3 separate regions of the Homo sapiens genome follow, and regions 2 and 3 are each linked to region 1. The links are contacts of gene promoters, found by promoter capture Hi-C in human tissues and cell types (Jung and others, 2019). All regions are on one chromosome and are shown on one strand. Each heading gives the region's core, a stretch centred on a gene start or on the middle of the fragment in contact. The rest is flanking DNA. Distances are from core to core; before and after follow the strand shown. Region 1 holds the start of FAM83D (family with sequence similarity 83 member D). Region 2 overlaps DHX35 (DEAH-box helicase 35). Region 3 overlaps DHX35 (DEAH-box helicase 35).

Region 1 (5,090 bases), core at 1,406-3,905:
CCTCTTCCCCCTGCCCCATTCCACTCTTTCCCCTCGTGTGCTTATTGTGGGGAAGTACGATACTATAAAGTACTTCACCTTATGACAGCAATACAGCAGCTAAGGCCCCGGCCATTCTCATTTTTTACCTCGAGCATTAAAGGCATAGAGAAGCTATGTGGTTGCACAGCCTCAGACCACAGTCCTTGGTCCTTGTCCCACACAGAACTTTGTTGGTGTTTTTCTTGAAAGAGGATGAAAAGGGTGTCGGATCACAAGGTCAGGAGTTCGAGACCAGCCTGGCCAACGTGATGAAACCCCATCTCTACTAAAGATGCAGAAAATTGGCCAGGTGTGGTGGCATGAGCCTGTAATCCCAGCTACTCAGGAGGCTGAGGCAGGATAATCGTTTGAACCCTGGAGGCGGAGGTTGCAGTGAGCCGAGATCACGCCATTGCACTCCAGCCTGGGTGACAGGGCAAGACTCCGTCTCAAAAAAAAAAAAAAAAAAAAAAAAAAGAAGGTGCTCTCTTGCAGCCTCCCGGACCCTGGATACCAGCGCAGGGACACATGGAAGTCCCCACACTTATTCTTGAGAAACTTCACAAAGGGATGGGGATGGGGAGAGGAGAGGTAGAGAGGGAGAGGCGTCTCAACAGCGGCAGGCATTCATCCATTTAAAAAGGTTATTGGTTGCTAAATAATAATGGTAACATCTCACATTTATGACCCACTTTTCATTTACATAAAAAAGATGACGACTGAAAATTGACTGTTGGATTTAGCTCTGTGGAACTCATGATGAACCTGACAAGAGGTTTTGGTAAAGCAGTGGGGGTTTTAGCCTGATTGAAGAGGGCTGGAAGGGAACTGGAGACAGCAAGTATAGACAACTGGTTTGAGGGTTTCTTTTCTTTTCTTTTCTTTCTTTCTTTTTCTGAGACAGGGTCTTACTCTGTCACCCAGGCTGGGGTGCAGTGGTGTGATCATAGTTCACTACAGCTGCAAACTCCTGGGCTCAAGTGATCTCTTGCCTCAGCCTTCCCACTGGCTGGGACCATCATGAGCACTGCCATGCACTAAAAGTTAGGCGCACCACCATGCCCAGCTAACTTTTGTATTTTTTTGTAAAGACAGGGTCTCACTATGCTGCCCAGGCTGGTCTCAAACTCCTGGGCTCAAGTGATCCTCTTCCCTTGGCCTCCCACAGTGCTGGGATTACAGGTGTAAGTCACCATGGCCAGCCACATCTGAGATTCTATGCTGCAAAAATAAGAAGTGAGATGGGGAGCTTTAGAGGAATGTAGGGTCAAGAGAGGGTTGTTTTAAGATGAAAAATATTTCAGCATGCTTGTAGGCTGATAGAAATGAATCGGTAAAGAGGGAAGCTGATGTTCCAGGAGAAAGAAGAAGATTGCTGGAGCGATGCTGGTGAGTAGTAGAGGGGCTGGAAATGCCCAGGCAGAGGGGTTGGGGTTGGATGGGCACAGGCACAGTTCATCAATGCCCAGTATACGGGCAGAGATGCAGACAGGAAGGTAGACTAGATGGCCGCACGTGGACGTTCCCTTCTTACTGTTTCTGTGTTCTTGCTGACATGGAAGACAAGCTGTCAGAGAGGAAAAGGTAGAGAGAATGAGGGAAATGCGGCCTACCAGGCAGTTTTTTTGTTTGTTTGCTTTTGTTTTGTTTTGTTTTGTTTTTAGATGGAGTTTCGATCTTGTCGCCCAGGCTGGAGTGCAGTGGTGCTATCTCGACTCACTGCAACATCCGCCTCCCGCGTTCAAGTGATTCTCCTGCCTCAGCCTCCCGAGTATCTGGGATTACAGGCGTACACCAAGACACCTGGCTAATTTTTGTATTTTTAGTAGAGACGGGGTTTCACCGTGTTGGTCAGGCTAGTCTCAAACGCCTGACCTTAGGTGATCCGCCCTCCTCGGCCTCCTAAAGTGCTGGGATTACAGGCGTGAGCCACCGCGCCCGGCCTCCTAGCAGGCAGTCTTACGGATTATGAATTTAAAACATGACCAGTCAGTAAGCATGGTTACGCTCTTTTTGTTTTTTCTTCAGCCCTGTAGGGCTGCCGGGGTGCAGGTGGAAAGTAGGGTATAACCACGGTTGGTTGGGGTTTTACAAGGCAAAAATCGATGAAATGAGAGAAGACTACCCGAGGGTGTAATCAAAGGAGCAGTCCTAATACGATGAGCCGGTATTCTTTGAATGAATGAATACATGGTTAAAGGCAGGTGATAAAGGCGATATGGTTGGCCATGCCAAAGCACTGAGAGCCTAGGAGCAGCGTGGCCAGAGTCTCCGGGAGTCGGCACCTGCCTCTCCTCGTTGTCTAGGCCTGACTGTCCCTGGCCTTGCACGGCCGCGCAGCGGGGCGACCGGCAGGGGGCGCGCTGGGATGGCCAGGAGCTCGGCTCTCCCCGCTCTGTCCCTGCTCTGCGGCCCGCCTCGCCCCTGCAAGTTTAAATTCCTCTTAGCAAGCCCAGCATCGCAGCCAATAACGCATCAGGGGGCGGAGCCGTAGAGGCTTGCGCCCCGCCTCGCTCCGCTATTGGAAGGAAAGCAGCCAATGGGAGAGCCGAGGCGGGGAGGTGCGGCCAATGGCGCGGGCCTGTTTGATTCAAAGGTTGCCTATAAAGCGGGACTGCACGCCGGTTTTTGTCCGAGGGCTGTCGAGTCCGAGCGCCGCCATGGCTCTGCTGTCCGAGGGCCTGGACGAGGTGCCCGCCGCCTGCCTGTCGCCGTGCGGGCCGCCCAACCCGACCGAGCTGTTCAGCGAGTCACGGCGCCTGGCTCTGGAGGAGCTGGTGGCGGGCGGCCCCGAAGCCTTCGCGGCCTTCCTGCGACGCGAGCGCCTGGCTCGTTTCCTGAACCCCGATGAGGTGCACGCCATTCTGCGCGCGGCGGAGAGGCCGGGAGAGGAGGGCGCGGCGGCGGCGGCGGCGGCCGAGGACTCGTTCGGCTCCTCGCACGACTGCTCTTCGGGCACCTACTTCCCCGAGCAGTCGGACCTGGAGCCACCGCTGTTGGAGCTTGGCTGGCCCGCCTTCTACCAGGGCGCCTACCGCGGCGCCACGCGTGTCGAGACGCACTTCCAGCCCCGCGGCGCTGGCGAAGGTGGCCCCTACGGCTGCAAGGACGCTCTGCGCCAGCAGCTCCGCTCGGCGCGAGAGGTGAGCGGCCCTCCAGGGCCCTGGGTCGCACGGGAGACCCCCTTCAAGAATGGGAAATTGAGGCCTGCTGGGAGTACGGGCCGGGGCCACTACCTCCTCTGCGCCCTACCGGAAGCGCGCGCGGGCTAGGTGGTCCCAGGGTCTCCGACTCACACCCCACTCTGCGTGTCTCCCCCGGATCCCCCGGGCCGCTCCTCGTGGCAGGGGATAGTGGGAAAGCCTCGGTTCCCAAGGATGCGAATTGTGCCCGGGTTCCATCTCCTAACGTTCATATCCCTGAAGGAGGGACCAGAAGTACTCTGAGTTCCAAATTTCAGTTAAAATCAAACTTGGAAAATTGCCTATTTCCCTGTCTGTCAGCCAACGCTAGATCCCACTTTCAGGAGCTTCTTAGGAGACTCATTACCAAAGAACTTACGCAGGGAAAGTTCCAGAAAGATGGTCTCCAGAGACAACTACGGGGCATTAGGAAGCAATTATTATTGCTAATTACTTTCATGCATCTTTTGCTGTAAAAAGCAGATAAACACGAGAGTGGCAAAGTGAGAGCCCTGCCGCTTTTTCTTTCTTGTCTTTTTTTTTTTTTTTTTTTTTTGAGACAGATTCTCTTTTGCCCAGGCTGGAGTGAAGTGGTGGGATCTCAGTTCACTGCAACCTCCGTCCCCCGGGTTCAAGTGACTCTCCTGCCTCAGCCTCCCAAGTAGCTGGGATTACCGGTGCCCGCCACCACGCCCGGCTAATTTTTGTATTTTTAGTAGAGACGGGGTTTCTCCATGTTGGCCAAGCTGGTCTCGAACTCCTGACCTCAGGTGATCCACCCGCCTCGGCCTCCCAAAGTGCTAGGATTACAGGCGTGAGCCACCGCACCCGGCCCCCTGCCGCTTTTTCTACTGCCAGAGACTGGAGGGGAAACTGGGGCAAGGGGTTTGTTTTCCATAGGCTGGGTCTGTGCCAGATTGCAGTGGTCTCCTAAAATGCAGATACATTTGCATTAGATCGGCTTCTGTATTCATAGTGGGTTTTGGTCCTACTGTCTGACTCTTAGTATGGCATGGTCATGGGTGCAATGGAGGTCTTGTCTGCTTGCCAGCCTCGATAAAGCTGCAGCAGGGTGCTGGGGATCAAGGAGGAAGAAGGCAGCCTGCAGGTGGGTGTGGCACATAGAGTGTCGTGGCAGACACCTTGGTCTGGAGCCATGGTCAGGTTGCTTGCTGACTGGCAGTGCCCAGCTCCCTGGCTATCTGCCTGTGCCAGGGACATGGCAGATAAAGCCCCAGCCATGTTAAGACTTGTTAGGGCTGGTACCTGAGTGTGTCTGAGTGTGGGTGAAGATACCAGTGCATTGTCAGGTTGACATGTCCAAGCCCCGACTCTCACCAATGTTCTTAATGTTCTTTCCCTGACTGGTGGGGTTTCAGTGGTAGTGGATACAGTGACCTAGTGCCTTGCCTTTGAGGGAGTGGTTGTGGGCTGCAGCTAGGCTCTTACCAGCCCTGAGGTGCTTTGGGTGGACTGAGGGTTTTTTGATGCAGCAGACATTTTCCTTGCGGGTTCAGTGAAAAGATTAAAAAGATGGAAAAGGCAGACTTGTGTAGGTATGCATCCCCAAAGCTCATGTCCAGTAGAACTTGAGCACTTGGAACCTGAAAAATGTAAAGAACTGGTCTGTATAGTGAGAGCTGTGGATTGTTCTAGTCTTTTGCCCAGCCCCAAATTTTAGTGATAGCAAAAGGGCACTGGAACTAGAGGCCAGAGGGAAACTATTAAACTCACGTGCTGGCGTGAGGAGGGGATGGAGCCAGGAGCTCAGACTCTCCCTCATCTCACGGGCATTTTGTAATACTGACATTTCCAGATAGAACCTGCTGCCCTAGTCTAGCTACCCACAGTTCCCTCCGAGATGCTGTATTTGGAACCTGGGCAGTT
Region 2 (5,090 bases), core at 1,625-4,124, 100 kb after region 1:
GGTAAGGAGGAGAGCCAGATCTGTATGTGGCTCAGAAGTCTACGCTTTTAAGGAAGTGACACACCCGCCTCAGCAGTCAGCCTGAAAGCCTAGTGTGCCAGGTACTCAGCCACATCCTCAGCACCATTAGTACTTGGTAACATTTCCTGAGTGCTTATAAGTGGCTAGACAGTGCACTGAGTGTTCCATGTGTTTATTAATTTAATGCTCACAACAACGCTGTGAAACGTGTGCTCTTTTCCCCATCTTATAGGTGAGAAAAGCGTGGCTAAGAGGTAAAATGTAACTTGCTGAAGTTACACAGTGAGGGTATGATGGAGTCAGAACCTGAGCCCAGGCGGTTCCATTTAAGTCTTCTTTTGTCTTTATACTAAGAGCAAGTGATTAAACAATGACGGAGTCTTGGCTTTTACTCTAAGGGAACAGTGTAATGAAGGGAGAGATTCATATGGATAGACAAAGTACTAAGATTATCAGTCCTCTTCGAAGTTAAAGTAGTAGATACTTTAGTAATCATAGAAGACGTGCTGGCAGATGTGGAAGGAATGCCGGGAAGAAGGAATCCAGAGAGGGCTAGCTTGGGAAGTCTTTCAGCTTCCTTGAGGTGTGGTGGGAGTCCGGTCAAGCTTTGGGGTCTGGTTGAATTAGAAAATGGTGGCAAAGAGCACTCTAGGGAAGGAGGACTGGAGACAAGTGCTTGGAGTGAGGAGTATATGAGACGCTCAGAGAATATTTGATGGGTGAATACACTCACGAGAGAGGGAAGAGTTGAAACCTGGGCCATTGAGCCATGTTGGAGTCATTGATAGAAACAGGATGCTTACAAGGAGCACCTAGTTGGAGAGCAGCTCGTCAAACGCCTGTCACCCAGCAGGTAGATGACAGCCTTACTTCAGCAATTGGTGTTCTTCACCTGTGTTTCATTATCAGACCCCTGCCCAGGAGAAAAGTTAAATTTAAATTCTACCCAGCCTGAGAAATTAAATACTAAGGAATAAGATTTTGTAGGGTAGGATTGAGCTTTGGAGGGCTACCGGCCATTGTAGTGTCTAAGATGCTCCCCTCCCCCTGCCTCCAAGAACCAGTTTCCACCCCTTTGGAAGTGATATCACCCCTGTTTAGAGTGCATATTTTACATGGAAATTTCTTATGGACAATAGGAGAGAAGAGACTGGATATCGGATTAGATCATATTTAGACATGTAGATTTGAGATTTTATCAGCTCAGTGCTTAGGAAAAATACAGAAAATCATGGAGACTAAATAAATTACATGCAAATTTAAAACATCTAAGGGTTAAAAAATAGAAAGCAATTAGTGAAAGATACTTTCAGCAGTCATGAGATAAATGATAAAGATTAAAAACTTTATTATAGAATGATTTTATTTAATATATTTAGGAAAAAACAGTTTTCAGGTTGATAAATGGGCTAAGGATTAGAACAAAAAATTCACAAAAGAAGAAATATGCCGATAGTAATCAAATAAATGTAATATAAAAGAAGGTAACAGAAGGTAACACTTTTTGCCAAAACATTGCTAGTAAGAATGCAGTGAAACTGCCATTTTTATATATTGTTGATGGCTTTGGAAATAGTACCACCTTTATGGAACTTACTTACCAACATGCTTTATTCCATTGGATCTAAGATACCATCATGTGTAAGAAACATCGTTATTTTATGTGTCACCAAAGAAAAAAAATGCTGCCAGTTATCATTGTAAAATGCTGTCCTAATTTCAGTGAATTAAAGTTAGAAAAAGAGCGAGTCTTAAAATTGATGAGATGTGATATGTCATTAACCATAAAAATAACATTAGCCTTTTGCACAACAATTTGGAATGTATCCTATGGACATCATCTAATAGTGGGGAAGCTTTATTCATGGAAGATGTTAGCTGTAGCAATAGAAACACCAGTTAAAATGGAACATTTGAAAAATTTGAAGAATTACTTCAATTTTCAAACACTAGCTCATAACCACAGAAGTAACGTTGTATACTATCTCCAGTTTGTGTTTTATAGAAAGAACATTGTTGCCATATGACACTCTTTTACAAAGGAGTTCTGAGGTCACTGACCAGCCTGCAGAGCAGCACTCTTAGGTTCTGGTGCCCAGCCATGGTCCAGTCATCTGTGGCTTAGGGGAGGTTGGAGGGGTCCCAGGTTCAAGGAGCAGACCAGCATTGTTGTCAGCAGCAGTTGTGGGGAGTGGGACCTCCTTAGATGGTGCTGGGGCAGGCATCCAGCATTGGGAAGGGTAGGGCTGGAGCCATTTCAGGAGAGGGTTTCCAGGTGTCTTGAAGCAGCCTGGGGTGGTGCTGGGAGTGGATCCTGTGCATTAGAGCACACGGAGCCTAGGGCAGGCAAGGGTTTCACCCGCCTCTCTGTTGGCTGCCTATGTAGGTGACCCGGATCTGGTTCTGAGGTGCATTGTCTCCGGCTTCTTCGCCAATGCAGCGAGGTTTCATTCTACTGGAGCTTATAGGTAACATGATACTTGGTGAAGTCATTTGTTAAAGGAACAATCTTACAAATGACCCAAACCCCACAGAAAGCTGTGCAGAGATAGTAATTGCATAATTATTTGTAATTTCTACCATGTCTCCTTCCAAAACTGAGTTGAGGTTAGCGACATAGCTTTAAGCAAAATATCTTGACTTTCTAAAAATGATTCTCACATATTCAGCTCATCTATATGTTGTATGTTTTAGAAGGATGACAATTATACATCTTGAGGCTGGTAATATTTCAATTCTAATGACAGAATAATATGACCTGAAGAAACTATTAAAAATAATGTTTCTCAGAGAAGTTATTTTACAATTGGCTAGTTTATTATGTCTTTAGAGATCTGCACGACTGAAGTCCCCTCCCACCCTGGTATAGTGTGGCCACGTCTGGTGTCTTTGGAGGTAGCCAGGTGTTTCTCATGTGCTGGATGTGCCTCCTGCTACATAACCTGATTCTTCCAGTTCCATTTTCTAGGCATAGGAAATCACTCATTGATGCCTTCCTAATGGTCTTTACTATATTCAAATGCAGTGAAAACTAAGCATAGCTTAGGCATACTGTAGCCTGTCAGTATCATGATTCTCCAAACTAATCATTCCAGTGCTTTGAATTGTTACTTTTATTCTGTCTTTTCTGTCTTTGGCTCATTTTAGTTTCATAACCTCAGTGTAGCCTCCTAAAAGTGTAGCTATCATCATTTTCTGTTCTTTAATAAGAGAACACTCCAAAGAATTTCTCCCCAGCTCTTCTATGTATTATTTTGTCATTAATTTTTTTTCCCAGAGAAAATATTACTGCCCTGTTATCTTGAGGTCAGCCAAGATATCCCTTGTCCTGGGCTCCTGTTAATGAGTCCAGAGTTGCACTGAGCCTTTTTTAATTTTGACAGCCAGATCTGCTCCATCTAGTATCCTAGTAGCCGACTGTTGGAACTGCAGGATAGCACTTTACAATGATCTCTAGTATGTTCTCTTTGTTACTCCAGGCATGTTGTAGCCTGTCAGTATTGTGATTCATTTGCCCATTGTATGAGCTCACCTCCCCACCCTGAGTTGTCTGTATTTGAGGCAACTTGTCCATGTGGAGGCGACCCCCACGGTGGCCCGAGATCTTCCCTAAGGAGTGCTGCCAGCTTGTCATCTTGATTGCTCCTACTCTCCTGGAGAGTTAGCAATTTTGACTAGCGTTTGGAAAATTCTTTTATCAGTGTCCTTAGCAACAATGTGGGCTACCTAAGAGGTTCCAGGCTAATCATTCCTTTGAGACAACATTTAGTGTTGATCAGCTCACCACCCCCTGGTAGGACAGCCCAGGACCCCAGGACGCTGGCTTTATTACAATGCCGACGAGGCATTCCGTCACAGCACTTGAAGCACTTCCCCCAAGAAACAGATCATTCTACTGAGTTGGAATTGGAAGTACTATTTCAGAGAAATTAATAGTCCAGTATTGAGCTTTTTTTTTTTTTTTTGAGATGGAGTTTCGCTCTTGTTGCCCATGCTAGAGTGCAATGGGGTGATCTTGGCTCATCGCAACCTTTGCCTCCCAGTTTCAAGCGATTCTCCTGCCTCAGCCTCCGGAGTAGCTGGGATTACAGGCATGTGACACCACACCCAACTAATTTTGTATTTTTAGTAGAGACAGGGTTTCTCCATGTTGGCCAGGCTGGTCTTGAACTCCCGACCTCAAGTGATCTGCTCGCCTTGGCCTCCCAAAGTGCTGGGATTACAGGCATGAGCCACCATGCCTGGCTGTGAGCTTTCTTTTTTCATTATCGTTACGTCCCCCTATAGTCATTATCTTTAGTATTTAACTTTGCTTTTTAGATTATAGAAGAAATCACATGTATTATTTCCATTCCAAAGGAAATTGTTTTGAAAGAGCACCTGCAGAAGATACACATAAACATAGGCAGAGCATTTTATTCCTAAATGTTTTTTCTAAGTGTCCGCGTGTTGCTTTTCTCCTCTTCGCTTTTTCCACGTGATTTATTCTTGACTTCTGGGGTGGCAGCCAGGAGAGGGATCAAGAAAGGTTGCAAGAGAAGATGGAGATAATTGTTTTGCTTGTGACGAGTTCAGTCTGCATGCTTTTTTGGTAATATTAAAAATATCTGTGGGAAAGTCTTGCTATAAGTATTTAAAATGTGCTTCAGACAAAATTCTTCTATGTTCCAAGGACCATCCGTGATGACCATGAGCTGCACATACACCCTGCGTCAGTCCTCTATGCAGAGAAGCCGCCTCGCTGGTAAGCTCATCCTGCTGCTTAGCCTGTGCCTGCTTTGAACAGGGCCATGTTCTTGTTTTTCTCCTGTACATGTTTCTTGACATCGCCTCTAGAATTGCTGCTCTGGGCCGGGCGTGGTGGCTCACGCCTGTAATCCCAGCACTTTGGGAGGCCAATGTAGGCAGGTCACCTGAGGTCAGGAGTTCAAGACCAGCCTGGCCAACATGGTGAAACCTCATCTCTACTAAAAATACAAAAATTAGCCAGGCGTGATGGGCACGTCTGTAATCTGAGCTACTCGGGAGGCTGAGGCAGGAGAATTGCTTGAACCTGGGAGGCAGAGGTT
Region 3 (5,090 bases), core at 1,553-4,052, 85 kb after region 1:
TATGTGACCTTTTGTGTCTGGCTTCTTTTAGCATAATGGTTTTGAGGCTTATCTACATTGTAGCATGTACTTCATTCCTTTTTATTACTGACTAATATTCTGTTGTATAGATAAACCACACTTTGTTTATTCATTTATTAGTTGTGGACATTTGGGCTGTTTTTGCCTTTTGGCTATTGTGAATAGTGCTGGTATGAACCTGCATGTACATGTACTTGAGTAGGTGTTTTTAATTCGTTTTGGCTATTACAGGGTTATATGTAATTTTGTTTAACTTTTAAGGAGCTCAAGTTACTTTTAAAGAGGCCAGCATTATCTCATGTGCCAAGAAATCATGGACTAAAGATAGGCAGGTGGATTTGGGTGAAAAGTCACTGAATCCCTTTGCATGAGCAGTTTAGTGGAAGTGGGGTTGGGGAGGGCCCCTGACTGTAATGAGTGCATTGGTGTCCAGCCTCTAGGCCTCCACAGGAGCCTCCAGAAAGTATTGCTTTGAACAGGGTACCACCTGCTCAGACCCTCCACATTTTCTCAAACCATCCAGGATTTTTCCTCAGCTTATCTTCTCCTACTAACCACTACAAATTGCTTCTCAGCTGAACTACTACACGACATGCTCTCTGCATGAGAAACGCTTAGATACCTTTTCCTTGAGCTGTTTCCTCTTTGCCCAACAGATCCTCCTTGTCCTTCAAATCCTCCCTCAAATGGCAACATGCAGCTTCCCTGGAGGCCTTCTTCCAGCCACCCTGCTTCCTCCTTCCCTGAGCCTCCATTTCTCTTTGGGAGGACCACTCCTTGGGACTTTTCCTATTTCTCCTTGAGGGTCAACTGTTTCTGGTCCAGGTCCCAGGCCCCTGCATATCACTGAAGCTTTTCAAGGGGATTGGCTGTGACTCCTACAGCTTCTGGCCCCATGCTTCACACACTTGAGTCCTCAGGAGAGCTTGCCTGTCATTGAACTTTTAGGAAACACCCACTTCCTGTGAGCTTTTCAGCAGGGTGGTCCTCTTATGTGTTAACTTTGTTTCTCCTTTGGTTAGTAGTGTGCTTGGAAAATGGGGTTATCCTATCAAGAAGCTGTACCCCAAATTCTCTTGAAACTAAAGGAAGTAGCTCATTTGGAACTTCCTGCTGTTGGCCGTCATCCAGAACCTTCTAGTTAGACCCAATTTGTATCAATTAGTCCACAGAATATTGGTTGTCTGTTTTCTCAAAGAAAACCTTTCTGAAGTTTTTCGGGGATAGTGGTATTTCTTCATGGCACTTTTTTTTTTTTCCTCTAGTTAACTAAAGCTTTATGATCTAAATGGAAGTTGGGTCACCCTTGTATTGTTTAAGAAGGGTGTACATCAGTTACAATGTTGACTGATGTGGGAGGTTTTGGTGGGTGGAGCATTCTCTATATAATCCTTAAGCTTTCTGAATATACATGAAAATGAGTTAATCTCTTCCTCTTTTTTCCCCACCCTTCCTGCCTAGCTTTTATAAAAAGGCCTTCTTCCAAAGTCTCTTCTCCTTCCCCCTCCCTTTCTGCCCTTCCTGTCTTGGGATCTCTGTGTCTTAGGATGCTTTTTCCTGTGTAAGGTCACCTCTTCTTCCTGGTAGGGCATGTAAACATTCATTTCTTGGTTTGGGGCAGCATTGGATTCTGGGAATGATATTGTGTACCTGGCTTGTTGATTTAAAAATTTGATTTGGACAATTTTTGCTCTTTATAAGATTTGGTCATTTGTTGTATTTTGGTGATTTATCTTGAAATTGTTCTTTGCTTGTATGTGAAGCTCTTGCTTCCTTGACTTATTCCAAACAGAGATGGTGGCAACTGGGAACTGATAGTGATTCAGCAAGTACTTGTTGGTTTGATTTAATGTTTTGCTGACAAAAAACATTAAAAAACAGAATTTTAGATAAAGTTTTATAAAGGTGTATTCAAATATATTTATCTAAGGCATTTTAAAAATAGAATGGTCTTTCCTAAGTATAAAAATAACTTTATATCATGGTATCATGTGCATCTGCTTCTAGAATCCTAGAGACCCTTGTTCAAGATAGAGAAGAAAATTTGTCCCTTGGCATAGTGATTGCATTTGATTGTGACATTTGGTCCCAAACAGTTCTGATTTCCTATCCTCAGAGGAAGCCTTTGACAAGTTGCCTCAGTCTACGGTTCCTGAGATGCAGCGTAGTAATTTGGCACCTGTCATCCTGCAGCTGAAAGCACTAGGAATTGACAATGTCCTCAGGTTCCACTTCATGTCGGTAAGTCCTGCCTGCTGTCTGGGGCCATAGGGAGGCTAGGGAGCTCACAGGGGGATGTCAGGACATTGTCGTAGGGCATGCCATCTTTCCTTTTTTTCCCTACTCAGGTCATGTGTTGTGTGTCTGCTTTGCAACCAGGCCCTGTGCAGGACGTAGGGGAAAACAGCCAGACAAGGTAGCCTCAATTCCTATTCTTACATAGTTCCTGTTCTTGTCTGCTGGGGAATAGAGACAAGTAAGTGGGTAATTACAGAGCAGTGTGCCCAGGGCTCTGAGAGACAAAGGAAGGGCCTCCCAGGTGAAACCTGAAACCCAAATAGAATCTCACCAGGTTAGGAGTGGAGAGTTCCAGGACAGCTAGTCTTTGTAGAGGCCTAGATGCAGGAGTACCATGATTGGGGGATCCTTCCTGCAGCTTTAGATAGAGCTGCAGGAAGACCCTTGTGCCTGATTGCTTCCTGAGATGATTTCTAGGAGTAGAATGACTGGGTCAAAGGGCCGTTGTCCTGTTTAGGGTCCTGTTACATGGCCAGATTGCTTTACCAATGTCAACTCTAGCAGTGCCTGAATGCCCACCTTGTGGTACTTCCATTGTGCCATGTTATCTTCTTTGGGTTTGCTGATTTGATTGGCCAGAGAGAGGAAATCACCTTTATTATAATTATTTTTAAATTTTTCATAAGATAGATTTTTATAAAAACATTTATTAGTCAGTTTTTATTTCTTCTGAGTTGTTAAGCTATTTATCTGTTAGAATTTGTGTCAGTTAGTGATTTTCAAGAGTCCTTTGAATATTAAAGACATTAATTTTTATAATATTTCTTACAAATATTTTCTATTTATATTTTACTGTTTTTTTTTTAATGTGTGGACATTCTAAACATATTCACAGTAATCTATTTTTGCCTTTATGATTTCTTTGGCTATTCTTTTTTTCTTTCTTTATTTTCTGAGACAGTCTCACTCTGTAGCCCAGGCTGGAGTGCAGTGGTGCCATCTTGGCTCACTGCAACCTCTGCCTCCCAGGCTCAAGTGATTCTTGTGCTTCAGCCTCTTGAGTGGCTGGGATTACAGGTGTGTGCCACCACGCCTGGCTAATTTTTTATATTTTTAGTAGAGACAAGGTTTTGCCTTGTTGACCAGGCTGGTCTCAAACTCCTGAGCAGGTCAGGTGATCCACCCCGTCTGGGCCTCCCGAAGTGCTAGGATTATAGGCGTGAGCCACCACCCCCGGCCTCTTTGGTTATTCTTGCCCTTATGAAGTACTTCTTATATTTGGGTCAGTTAATACATATTCTCTCATATTTTCTTCTAGAATTTTTATGATTTGAGAACTTTGTTTTTTCCCAACTGTATATGATATGACAAGTCTGGAAAGTCTGGATTCTTGGATAGTAAAGTCCCTAATGTCATATGTGATGGTAAACTAGGTGAATGAAAGAATAGAACATACAAATATCAACTCCCCCAAAGAAAATTGTGTACTTACCATAAGTATAGGGAAAATGGACCCTTTGATTATTGGTGTAGAGTAGAAGATATTATAAAGAAAAGATAAACAGGCTGAGCGTGGTGGCTTATGCCTGTAATCCCAGCACTTTGGGAGGCCGAGGCAGGTGGATCACTTGAGGTCCGGACTTCAAGACCAGCCTGGCCAACATGGTGAAACCCCGTCTCTACTAAAAATACAAAAATTAGCCAGGCATGGTGGCATGCGCCTGTAGTCCCAGCTACTTGGGAGGCTTGAGGCAGGAGAAACGCTTGAACCCGGGAGGTGGAGGTTGCAGTGAGCTGAGATTGTGCCACTGCACTCCAGCCTGGGCAATAGGGTGAGACTCTTTCTTAAAAAAAAAGAAAAGATAAACAGTATGTGCTGATTTGAAAGCTTATGAAAAGCCCCGCATGTAAAATTAAAGAAAAACATACAGTGACAGAAATGACAGATCAGTATCTCAAAAAATATGAAGAGTTTTTATATGCACATCATTTACAGTAAATATTCACTAAATAAAGCTAAAGGAAAAAAACAGCACAAATTCAAATTTCAACTATCATTAGGACATGTTGAGCTTCTCTAGGAGAGAGGTGACTGCACGTTGATATAGCTATAAAGGATGACTTTACACTAATTTTTTTTTTTTTTGAGACAGAGTCTCTCTCTGTCACCCAGGCTGGAGTGCAGTTGTGCGATCTCAGCTCATTGCAACCTCTGCCTCTTGGGTTCAAGTGATTCTCGTATCTCAGCCTCCCAAGTAGCTGGGACTACAGGAAAGAGCCACCATGCTCGGTTAATTTTTTGTATTTTTAGTAGAGACGGGGTTTTGCCATGTTGGCCAGGATGGTCTTGAACGCCTGACCTCAGGTGATCTGCCCACCTTGGCCTCCCAAAGTGCTGGGATTACAGGTGTGAGCCACTGTGCGCAGTTGACTTTACACTAATTAAATGATTGAGTATAAACAAAAATGGTGAAATCGAAAACTGCCACAATTTGGGAAAGTAAATTCCTCCCATGTTATACCGTTTCTGTCCCCATGGAGGACTTTCTGACAACATTTAATGAGCCGTAGAAATGTCTGCTATTTCTTCTCATAAAAATTTCTCCTGAAAAAATAATTCAGAAGAAGAAAAAAAGCTTACATATGTGATAATGCTTATAGCATTTATATTACATTTAAAAATATAAATAATGAAAATTATCGTAAAACTTTTGGACAGTTGAAAAATGAAAAAAAAAATACAAATTTATCTTCACATATTTCCTTCTGGTTATTATCCCCTGAAATTGTGGTTTTTATGATTGAAATTACAGAGTACATATAATTTTGTA

What was found. Contacts are between HindIII fragments. The study calls those that stand out against the background at their distance.
Region 2: a contact is called between a fragment that was not itself captured here and the fragment with the promoter of FAM83D in region 1, in 5 of the 25 tissues and cell types used here (adrenal gland, lymphoblastoid cells, neural progenitor cells and 2 more).
Region 3: a fragment that was not itself captured here is called in contact with the fragment with the promoter of FAM83D in region 1 in 3 of the 25 tissues and cell types used here (bladder, lymphoblastoid cells and stomach).

Annotation. Positions count from the first base shown.
Region 1 is chr20:38,923,762-38,928,851 of GRCh38, forward strand. FAM83D (family with sequence similarity 83 member D) reads left to right here and starts at 2,656. Exons shown (of 4, transcript NM_030919.3): 1 at 2,656-3,164. The coding sequence starts at 2,682. RefSeq lists a silencer at 2,274-2,633 and enhancers at 2,744-2,843, 4,229-4,318. The HindIII fragment of the contact is 31,187 bases long and covers 1-5,090 here.
Region 2 is chr20:39,026,011-39,031,100 of GRCh38, forward strand. DHX35 (DEAH-box helicase 35) reads left to right here. Exons shown (of 22, transcript NM_021931.4): 19 at 2,408-2,489; 20 at 4,694-4,765. Among named protein-coding and RNA genes, the nearest start is that of DHX35, 66 kb to the left of the region's middle. The HindIII fragment of the contact is 7,874 bases long and covers 1-5,090 here.
Region 3 is chr20:39,008,143-39,013,232 of GRCh38, forward strand. It overlaps DHX35 (DEAH-box helicase 35), which reads left to right. Exons shown (of 22, transcript NM_021931.4): 13 at 2,138-2,262. Among named protein-coding and RNA genes, the nearest start is that of DHX35, 48 kb to the left of the region's middle. The HindIII fragment of the contact is 3,437 bases long and covers 1,085-4,521 here.